Linked DNA regions of Homo sapiens: region 1 is linked to region 2. The links are contacts of gene promoters, found by promoter capture Hi-C in blood cells and fetal thymus (Javierre and others, 2016). All regions are on one chromosome and are shown on one strand. The core of a region is centred on a gene start or on the middle of the fragment in contact, and the rest is flanking DNA. Distances in the headings are between cores, read along the strand shown.

What was found. The method cuts DNA at HindIII sites, captures the fragments that hold promoters and counts their contacts. A CHiCAGO score of 5 or more calls a contact.
Region 1: a contact is called between a fragment that was not itself captured here and the fragment with the promoter of SMPD3 in region 2, in 2 of 17 cell types (monocytes and M2 macrophages). The highest score is 6.3, in monocytes.

The regions. Positions count from the first base shown.
Region 1 is chr16:68,517,518-68,523,130 of GRCh38, reverse strand. No RefSeq gene overlaps it. Among named protein-coding and RNA genes, the nearest start is that of ZFP90, 19 kb to the left of the region's middle. RefSeq lists enhancers at 2,017-2,066, 2,107-2,156, 2,177-2,256. The HindIII fragment of the contact is 3,788 bases long and covers 1,485-5,272 here.
Region 2 is chr16:68,446,139-68,451,486 of GRCh38, reverse strand. It overlaps SMPD3 (sphingomyelin phosphodiesterase 3), which reads left to right and starts at 2,979. Exons shown (of 9, transcript NM_018667.4): 1 at 2,979-3,134. It overlaps LOC124903705 (a long non-coding RNA gene), which reads right to left and starts at 2,647. Exons shown (of 2, transcript XR_007065097.1): 1 at 2,421-2,647; 2 at 1-2,322. RefSeq lists an enhancer at 2,612-2,661 and a silencer at 2,762-3,281. The HindIII fragment of the contact is 11,512 bases long and covers 1-5,289 here.

The DNA of each region.
Region 1 (5,613 bases), core at 2,129-4,628, 71 kb before region 2:
AGAGAAGGAGGGCAGAGAAAGAGTGAGGGACTAGAAATTAAACAAATTTGGGCCAGGTGCAGTGGCTCATGCCTGTAATCCCAGCACTTTGGGAGGCTGAGGCGGGCAGATTGCTTGAGCCCAGGAGTTTGAGACCAGCCTGGCCAACATGGCGAAACCCTATCTCTACTAAAACTACAAAAATTAACCGGGCCTCGTGGTATGCACCTGTAGTCCCAGTTACTTGGGAGGCTGAGGCACAAGAATCACTTGGACCCGGGAGGCAGAGGTTGCAGTGAGCCGAGATCGCACCAGTGCACTCCAGCCTGGGCCACAGAGTGAGAACTTGTCTCCAAAAAAAATAAAAAATAAAAAATTAAACAAGATTGTTCTCATGCTATATTTATTGAATTATGTTTGTATCTGAATTTATTTATTTATTTGAGACGGAGTCTTGCTCTGTCGCCAGGCTGGAGTGCAGTGGTGCAATCTGAGCTCACTGCCACCTCCGCCTCCCAGGTTCAATTGATTCCTCTGTCTCAGCCTCCCGAGTAGCTGGCATTACAGGTGCCCACCACCACACCTGGCTAATTTTTGTATTTTTAGTAGAGGTGGGGTTTCACCATGTCGGCCAGGTTGGTCTCAAACTCCTGAACTCAAGTGATCCACCCACCTTGGCCTCCCAAAGCGCTGGGATTACAGGCATGAGCCATGGCACTTGGCCTTGTATCTGAATTTTTAAATAAACTTGCAAATTAATTAACTTGCAAATATTATAGCCGAGATAGTTTTTGTTCATGGCTGATGTCCTCCAACATTACAACCAGATACATGGATCCAAGAACCTGGTCTAGATTGTCCTGAGGCTGGGCCTGCCAGGGGCCCAGTTACAGAGATATTTGACAGCCAAGCAGGTTCTGTCTGTAAGAGGAACTTACCCACTTATGTGCCCACGAACTGTGTGCTGAGTTAACTGAGCTAAGCTTATGACATAAAGGCTTTATTTATTTATTTATTTATTTATTTATTTATTTATTTTGAGATGAAGTTTCACTCTTTCACCCAGGTTGGAGTGCAGTGGCGCAATCTCGGCTCACTGCAACCTCTGCCTTCTGGTTTCAAGTGATTTTCCTGCCTCAGCCTCCCGAGTAGCTGGGATTACAGGTGCCCACCACCACGCCCAGCTAATTTTTGTATTTTTAGTAGAGATGGGGGTTTCACCATGTTGGCCAGGCTGATCTCAAACTCCTGACCTCATGATCCACCCGCCTCGGCCTCCCAAAGTGTAGGACCACAGAGGCTTTGCTTTATTATAAAGAGTAATGGTTTTTGAGAAGAGCTAAGACAGCTCCTTCATTGTATAGATGAAACTAAAGCCCAGAGAAAGACACTAGTTGGAGGAGGAAGAATGTGGTATAGGAAGGAAAAGATGCCTGTCATCTGCTGGAGGGATTCTTAAGTTACATTGTAGCATTATGTCTTCTTAAATTCACCAGGTAAAAGCTTATGCTTAAAACTATTTAAATTCAAAAGTGGTAATTTAAAAAATAGAATGCTGAGTGAAGTGGCTCGAACCTTTAATCCCAGCACTTTGGGAAGCTGAGTCCGGAGGATCACATGAAGTCAGGAGTTCGAGACCAGCCTGGGCAACAAAGCAAGAGCCTGTCTCTACAAAAAATACAAAAATTAGCTGGGCATGGTAGCATGAGCCTGTGGTCTCAGCTACAGGAGGAAGGCTAAGGTGAAAGGACGGCTTGAGCCCAGTAGTTCGAGGTTTGAGGCTGCAGTGAGCTATGATTGCACCACAGCACTCTAGCCTGGGCGACAGAGTGAGACCCTGTCTCAAAATAATAATAATAATAATAATGATGATGATGATAATAAAGTGAACACATTGCTTGACTGGGCTTTGCTCATTTGCTTTGCTTTCTTCCATTCTGTTCCACTTTCTCTTCGCTCTGTTTCCAGGTCTGCTGTTGTGTGATCTCCAAGTGACTTTCCCTCTCTGGGTTGCTATTTCATCTGTACAATGCAGGAGCTGTTTTGGCTGATCCAAAACACCATTTTAATTTTTCCTACCACAACTGCTAAGTCCAGTTCAACCAGTGAAGGTGTGACCTGAGCAGAGGTGAGAAAACACGAAGGTGAAAGTAAGCTGGGTCCTTCATCTCTGCCTGGACCTTGGCCTGGGCTCACGGCCTGCCTGGGGCTGATGGCCACAGACCCCCGCCCCCACCCCAGCGTCTGATACGCCGCGCCTGGGGCGATCTTGGTACCTCCCCGCCACCGCGTGGGGACAACACATTCGCAGCTCCGCGGTTACCAAGGCGACCCAGCTGGTGTATCCTCGGTAGCCCCCTAGCGGACACTTATGGAACCTGCAGTTCTTTCCTTTACCTCGGGCGGCGTATTTCACCTGCAGCCCTGTCCAGAGAGGGGGCGGCTCTCTTACCTGGCCTCTGTATTGCTTCTCTCTACCCTGAGCCTGGCCACCCGCCCCACCTCTCCAGACATTTCGGTTTCTCCTCCAGGGACCAGGCTTCTCTGGCTTTGTCACCCAGGCACAACAGCTCTAATTACCCATCCCTTCCAGCCAGGGTCCTGGGGACTTCAGAAGGGCTGTCACCCACGGCACTTCCAAAGTCCCTCTCGAGAGTGTAAAAGTCTGGCCGGGCGCGGTGGCTCACGCCTGTAATCCCAGCACTTTGGGAGGCCGAGGTGGGTGGATTATCCAGCCTGGCCACCATGGTGAAACCCCGTCTCTACTAAAAATACAAAAATTAGCCGGGCGTAGTGGTGGGCGCTGTAATACCAGTTATTTGGGAGGCTGAGGTGGGTGGATTATCCAGCCTGGCCAACATGATGAAACCCCGTCTCTACTAAAAATGCAAAAATTAGCCAGGCGTAGTGGTGGGCGCTGTAATACCAGTTACTTGGAAGGCTGAGGCAGGAGAATCGCTTGAACCTGGGAGGCGGAGGCTGCAGTGAGCCGAGATCATGCCACTGCACTCCAACCTGGGCGACAGAAAGACTCTGTCTCAAAACAAAAAAAAACAAAGAAGAGAGAGTGCAATTTATTATTATTTTTTTCTGAGACAGAGTCTCGCTCTGTCGCCCAGGCTGGAGTGCAGTGGCACTATCTTGGCTCACTGCAACTTCCGCCTCCCGGGTTCAAGTGATTCTCCTGCCTCAGCCTCCAGAGTAGCTGGGCTACAGGGGTGCACCACCAGGCCTGGCTAATTTTTGTATTTTTAGTAGAGCTGGAGTTTCACCATATTGGCCAGGCTGATCTTGAACTCCTGACCTCAAGTGATCCACCTGCCTCGGCCTCCCAAAGTGCTGGGATTACAGGCGTGAGCCACTGTGCCTGGCAATGAGTGTAAAAATCTTATGTGATGTGGAGTAAAATACCCTTCCCTCGGCCAACCCCCTGTCCACACCCCACCCCCAGCAACCCTTGACTCAGACTCTGGCTTTGGGATCCACTTTTCCTTACAGGCCTCGTGCATCTGTGTGATGGAATCCCATAGGCAGCACAGCCCGGCCGGAATCCAGGGAGCCACTAGTGCATGGGGTGGGGCAGCATCACCAGAACTGGGCATACAGCCTCTGTTGGGAGACAGGCAAGCATACAGACAAGCCAACCCAATACAGGACTGGAGGTGGGCAGTCACAAGGTTGGTGGCGCAGTGTGCTGGGAGCACCACATGGAAGGGGGAGGACCACAGCCTGAGCTGGGCAGAAAGGCTTCCTGGAGGAAGTGATGCTTGAGCCTTGAAGGATGAGTAGGCGCTGGCCTGGGGTAGAGATCTCAGTGATGGCTTGAGGGGTGGGGGAGGACTTCTCTTCAGAGTCTACCTTCCTGAGTGTCACTCCTCATCAGGGCCCCTCCTTGCCCTTTTCCTCTTCTCACCCTGTCCCCATTCCCTGGGCAACCTTCCCCAGCCCAGCAAATGTAACCAGCATCTCCTTGTTACACGTGATCCTTTTCTCCTCGTCACAGGCAGTCCCTGGATGTGCCCTGGACTTGCTTGCCTTCCTGGTGAGTTTATTCATCCTTCAAGACCCAGCTAGAAGGCTGAGCACAGTGGCTTATGCCTGTAATCCCAGCACTTTGGGAGGCTGAGGCGGGTGGATCACTTGAGGTCAGGAGTTTGAGACCAACCTGGCCAACATGGTGAAACCCCGTCTCTACCAAAAATACAAAAATTAGCCAGGTGTGGTGGCGGGTGCTCATAATCCCAGCTACTCGGGAGGCAGAGGCAGGAGAATTGCTTGAACCCAGGAGCCAAGGTTGCAGTGAGCAAGATTGCGCCATAGCACTCCAGCCTGGGCGACACAGCGAGGCTCCGTCTCAAAAAGAAAAAGACCCAGCTAGATGTTCACTCTTTCTGGCACCTTCCCAAAACCACCCTTTCAATCCTGTATTTATTCCACAAACTTCTACTGAACACCAGGTATTAGGCCCAGGATGTGGCCCTACATTGCAACTTTTTTTTTTTTTTTTTTGAGACAGGGCCTCACTCTGTCACTCAGGCTGTGGTGCAGTGGTGAAATCATAACTCACTGCAGCCTTGAATTCCTGGGCTCAACCAATCCTCCTGCCTCAGCCTCCCACGTAGCTAGGACAACAGGCGTGTCCCACTATGCCCGGTTAATTTTTGTATTTTTTATAGAGATGGGATCTTGCTTGTTGCCCAGGCTGGTCTTTAACTGGCCTCATGTCATCCTGTCACACTGGCCTCCCAAAGTGTTGGGATTACAGATATAAGACACCGCACCTGGCCCCTACATTGCAACTTTCTGTTCATCTGTCGGTCTTCCTAGCTGGCCAGGATTTCCTGTGAGCCGGGGGGAAGCTGAGTTGTATATTTTATTAATCCTCAGCCTTTAATATTCATGCCCTGAATGAATGGGTTAATGAATGAATTAATATAAGTACAGCTTCTTGCAAAAAACAAATAAGAAACACCTCAGTTCACAGGGCTGGCACTCTCTGATTTCCAGTTCTGTCCCCTGCCACTCTCTCAAAGGTATTTGGTCATATGTTATTAAATTAAAGTGAATTAAAATTTGCTTGAAATAACTACAGACTCCCCCGCTCTCCTGGGCCTGCAATGACCAGATTACATCTCCTCCAGGCACAGAAGTTTGACATTTCATTGCAAAGTCATTTTCTTCTCATTTCCTTATGTTGCTAAAATATTCTATTTCTCTTCACTTCCCCTTTGTGTCCCCATTACTCACGTTTAGTTAAATTTATCTGCTGCCATTTAATCATCTGAGATAAGCTTGCTGGTGTGGCTGTTCTTAGGGCACTGCCTCGCCTTCCCAGACCGTCTGTCTCCTCCCAGGCCACTCGGAGAATGGGATCCAGACCCCTCCCCCTGGGGACAGAGTGTCTGGGTTACCTTCAGACCCTGGGTTTCTCCCCAAGGCAACTGACTTCAGGGTCCTCCCTGCCCCCAACCCACCCACCGCCTTCCTCCCCAGCCTCCTCCTCTTCTGTTTTCTGGGGTATGGTTTTCATTCCGCCTCCTGACCTGGCACTTCTGTGGCCCCTTTGGTCACACTGAGCAAGTGGCCTCATAATTCTTCTCTCAGTGGGATCAATGAGTAAATCCTTAAAGGGAC
Region 2 (5,348 bases), core at 1,730-4,229:
TCAGGATTAGGATCCAGGTTTCCTAACTCTACTTGGCTGTGCAGATGCTGTTATAGTCTCTGGGTGCTGCCAGAATTGTGGAACCCTGACTTTTTCCTATTTATAACAATTTGCCAAAACTGAAATTGGATTCCAGTGGTAGATGGATGGTGGTACACTACTTCTGAAGGGGTAAACGGACCTCCACAGGGTTTCAGCTCTGGCTTCAGGTGGACTTATTTGGTATCCCTCTGCAATACTCGGGTGATACTCTGCTGATGCCCACCTGGTGGCATGGTCCTCCCTGATCCACTTTTCCAACAGCCTCTGCTCTCACTGCATCCACTGAATGAGGCACTCTGCTTTAGCACACGTCCCATTTCCCCCTGCCTCCTTACCGTTTTCTCTTCAGTAATAAGACCCCATCTGTTCACCCAGCTCCAATTGCCTTCCCTGATGGTTTAGCCAGGATCAAAGCCCCTCTGCCATGCCTCTTAAAGTCCTGTTGGTTCTTCCCTAAATGCCATCTGTTTTACTCACTCCCCCACCCTAGCCTTCCCTTCCTGGATGTTACTAACTCAAGGATGACAGAGCTGCTTTCTCTCAGGCTCTGTCTCTTTGGTTTGAATTAGGTCCAGAGTAAAAGTCCCCTTGGTTATTTCCTTCTTGGCCATGAGTTAATTATTCCCATATATTAAGGCATTCTCCCCAGAGTGTATCAGCTGACATACACAAAAAAACATCTGGAGAAGGTGATAAAATGAAATGTGTAGATTAACTAGGCCATCTAGCCAACATCAGAATGTTTAGTGGAGAAATATTCAGGAAAGATGCTACCTAGCAAGGTGGGACATCACCAATGAGGCCTAAGATGCTGAGCAGAGGGTTGAAAGAAGAGCAGGAGGCCGGGCACAGTGGCTCACACCTGTAATGCCAGCACTTGGGGAGACCAAGGTGGGCCTAGGTGGCAGAGGCTGCAGTGAGCTGAGATCGCGCCATTGCACTCCAGCCATTGCACTCCAGGCAACAAGAGCGAAACTCCGTCGAAAAAAAAAAAAAAGAGAGAGAAAGAAAGAAAGAAAAAAGAAAGAGCAGGAATCTTAGGACATCTTTACTTCATAACTGACAGGGCAGAAGATCTTTCTCAGAAAAGGAGTGGGAGGTAGGGCATTTAGGCACAGAAACGAGTAGGGCCAACAGCTAGAAATAGCGGAACATGAAGAACTGATGACATTTCAGGGAGAACTGACAGGAATAATAGGCATGGGTCTATCAATCTCTAGCATCATAGGATTAAAAGGGTACTCAAAGCATTCAGGTAAAATCCCAACCCACTGTACAAATGAAATAAACATTTCTTCAAGGGGGCGGCATGCCTCTAACTGAACACCTCCAGCAATGAGAAATGCCCAACTTTAGGAAATCAGAGTTTTGGAGGTGTATGTGAATGAGGTTCCTTTATTTTCTTTTTTTTAATTTTATTCTTTTTCTCTTTTTTTTTTTTTTTTTTTGAGACAGGGTCTCACTCTGTTGTCCAGGCTGGAGTGTAGTGGTGCAATCTCGACTCACTGCAACCTCCACCTCCCGGGGTTCAAGCGATTCTCCCGCCTCAGCCTCCTGAATAGCTGGGATTACAGGCACGTGCCACCACGCCCAGCTAATTTTTGTATTTTTAGTAGAGACTGGGTTTCACCATTTTGGTCAGACTTGTCTCGAACTCCTGACCTAGTGATCCACCTGCCTCGGCCTCCCAAAGTTCTGGGATTACAGGCGTGAGCCACCACGCCCGGCCCAATTCATTTTCAATTCAACAAATATCTATATTTATATCTCAATAGCTAGTGAGTGCCTACTACGTGCCAGATACTAGACACTGGACTGTAAGTATGAATAATATAGACATGGCCCCTCCCCTGTGGATCTTATAATGAGGAAGACGAGCACATAAACATGCAAGTAGAACAGGGGAAGTAGAGGGTGCTGCTCAAACACAGGGTGGGGCACTCAACAGACAGCCCAGCATCTAGATGTCTTCACAAAACAGGCAATGTCTAGGCTGGGGCTTGCCGACGAGTTAGCTGAGGGCAGGGTGGAGAGGCCCAAGGGAGTAGGAGGCTTCCCAGCTTCCAAAGAAGTTAAGAGTGTTGCAAAAAAGTGGAGTCCAGATCTTGAAGGGGAGAGTGGGCTTAGGTCCGGGGGCATGTGAAGCGCCCTCCGTCTGCTGCGCTGGGGGAGATGCTGCGGTATCCTGGAGTGGTGTGAAGGAGGCCAGGACCTGCGATGGGAAGACGGAGACGGGAAGGCCCTGGTGGCCCAAGGGATGACCAAAAGTGAAGCGCTCCTCTATGACAAGATTGAGACAAAAATAAAGGAATAAAGTTCTGAATGCGGTGGGAGAGTCTCCTCCGTCCTCCCTCACCTTTGCTGGGCAGGAACCAAACCTGCTTGCCCTCGGTTTGCCCCATCACCGACGGGTGTGGTCGGGGGCACAGCTCTTCGCCCTTCTTCTCAGATAGGAAAACTGAGGCCCAGGGTCCTGAGGCAGAAATCAAGGTTTTCTCCTCGAAATGGCCTCCCAAGAGGCTGCCCGGGGTCTCACACGATCCTTCGAGGGTCCTGCGGCCTGCCCCACGCCTCCGCCAGCCATCCTCGGCTGGTCGTCTTTGCTATGGAAACGGTCCTCCCGCCCTGCTCCGCGCCTCCGTGTCTTCAGTGCACTCTGGGAAATGCAGTCCCGCTCTGTTTGCCTACCCGCGGCGTGAGCCCACTCCGCGTCCTTAAAGAACTATAAGTCCCAGAAGGCTGTGCGAAACTCCGCCGGTCTCTGGGGGATGTGGTCTTGAAGGAGAGACCCAGGAACCTGCGGGCGGGGCCGGAGGGAGAGGGGAGGACGCCCCCAATGGGCAGACTCCTGGGCGGGGTCCGGGTCACCATTGGCTCCGGCGGCGCGAGGGAGGCGGGGTCAGAGGAATGAAGCGCGGAGCTGTTCGCCGCTCCAGGTGCTGAGTCTGAGGGAGGCTCCGGACCCGAGAGCCGCGAGAGCCGCCGCCGCTGCGGCCGCCGCCAGATCTGCGGCCGGGAGCCCGGGCTGTGAGGAGCCGGGAGGAGCGGGGTGCGCTGCCGGGCGCTGACCGCCCTCCCGCCCGCCGTCAGAGGTCAGTGCTGCTGAATTCGCTTTTGTTTTCTTGGGGAGCGGGCGAACCGAGGCGTGAGGGGCTGGGGAGTTGACGGGACGTGTTCTCGTTGCTCTCAGGACCGCGGGTCCCGGACAGCCGCCGACTGACTAGGGGCCTCCCGTGGCCGGGCGCCGGAGGTCGGAGCAGCTTGGGTTAGTTTTCGTTTTATCATGGAGAAGGCTCTTGGGTATGAGGGGCGAGGGCTGGGGGTCACCCCCACCCCCCATCTCTCCTGGGAGAGCGAGGAGGCTTGGACCCTCCCTCCCGCTGTGCCTGGCGACGGGGCTGCTCGGATTACTCAGGACGGGAGGATGAGGTGTTGTGGGATGAAGGGACTCGAGGCAGGGGGACCCCTCCCCGCAACACTTCGGCTGCTCGAGGTTACAAAGGAGTCTGGTGGTGATGGATGAGATCGCGGACCGCTCCCCTAGCCCAGACCCTCCCAGGGGTATTCAGGAAGGGCTGCTTGGGATGCAGGGAAGACCCTTGCCCAGGCCCCTTCCTCCACACTCGCCCCCCTCCCTATTCCCCCCTCCTCCCTTGGCCCTAGGGTTTTGTAAAGAGGAGGATCGAGGATGTGGAAGAGACAGAGGACTCTTACCCCTCCCACTTGGACCCTCCTAGGTTACTGGTGAAGGGTGGAATTGGAATGTGGCAGGGAAACGCTGGGAGACCCCTCCCCATCCTTCTCGGAGTCGCGGGTGGAGGAAAGCACTGACACTCGGAATCCCCCGCGCTCGGGCCCGCGCCGAGGGTTGGGTGGCCTGGGTGTGAGAGGTAGTGTAGGGGGATGTACGAGGACAGGAGGGACCCCTCCCCACCTCTCCCCACCTGGGCCTTATCTCCCAGGCCCTCCCTACCTGGATCCAGGCCTGGGGCTCTAAGTCGAGACGACCCGCCCTAGCCCACCACGCCCCGGGGACCGAGCCTCTGGCACCGCAGCTGGGGGCCAATCCCAGATGGGCATGTACAGAGCGGGACGGGGCGGGTCTCCCCTCAAGCACTCAAGAGCTCCAGGTAGACGCTACCCCCAACCTCGTGCCCGCGAATCTTTGGGGGCTGCTCCGCTCCGATGCAGGGCGCACCCCAAACCGAGGCTCGGGGACCTGCTTCCAGGACGCGCGGTGGCTGTTCCAAGGCATGGGGCTTTCGCGCTCGGCCCAGGCATCCTCGAGAGGACAAAGCGGCGGTCGCCGCACTGGCAGGCCTGCGCCGCGGGCTGGGCGGGGGGCGCGGCCGCGGAGGGGGGGCTTCGGGCGCGGCGCGGGCAGCTTCCACGGAAACGTGCCAGGAGCGGGGCGGGAGACAAAGCGCACCGGCTTCTAGCGGGCCCGCGCGAGCCGGGATGGAAAATCCCGAGGGAGGAGGCGGCTGAGCCAGGGCAGGGCACTATGCCCCCACATCTTTCCCTTTTCCCATACCCCCTACCCTAAGGCCAGCCAGGCACCCAGGATTCTGTGCACGCGATGGTGACCAGGGCCCCTTCGGGGGCCGAGAGTGGGGGTGTTCAGGACCTGTGACCACTAGGACAGGGACAGGTGGGGGCTCCACCTTGAGCAAGGGGCCTGGAGTTCACAGGGCGTGAGTGGGCCAGGGTCCAGAGGGACATCCTGACTGGACCCTCCCACGCCCCATCAGCCATGTTAGGTCAAATTTGGTTCTGGGGAGGGGATGTGTTTAAGTGTGTGAGGGTTTGCATGGATGATGGTGTGGGTCAGAGTGTGGGTGTGAATGTGTGTGACTAGATGAATGTACCCATGTGTGTTTCAGTCTTCATGTGTGTGGCACGGCCAGAGCTTGCGCTTCGGGCTGTGTGTGTGTGTGTGTGTGTGTGTGTGTGTGTGTGTAGATGAACCACTTACTCATTTACTGATGGGCTTGGATGTTGTGGGGGTGGGGAGCAGGGTAGTCACATCTTTAACTCTCAAGCCACAGCAATGACCTAGGGTCCGAGTGGATGCCCTCAGGGTGAAGGTAGCTTCAGGTTGCTTTGTGCCTAGCCTGCCTGGCCTGCGAAAGGCCCAGTAAGTGGGGAATTCACAACTATGTGGAGCCTTCTTCAGCCCTTCTGAGGTCTCAGGTCTGACCCTGACATACTCACCAGTGCCCTGCCCTTCCCATTTTATCAGAAGCTTTATCCTACTGTAATAGGCTGCTCCAAAGACCAGAATTCTGCCCCCTCACCACCACCAT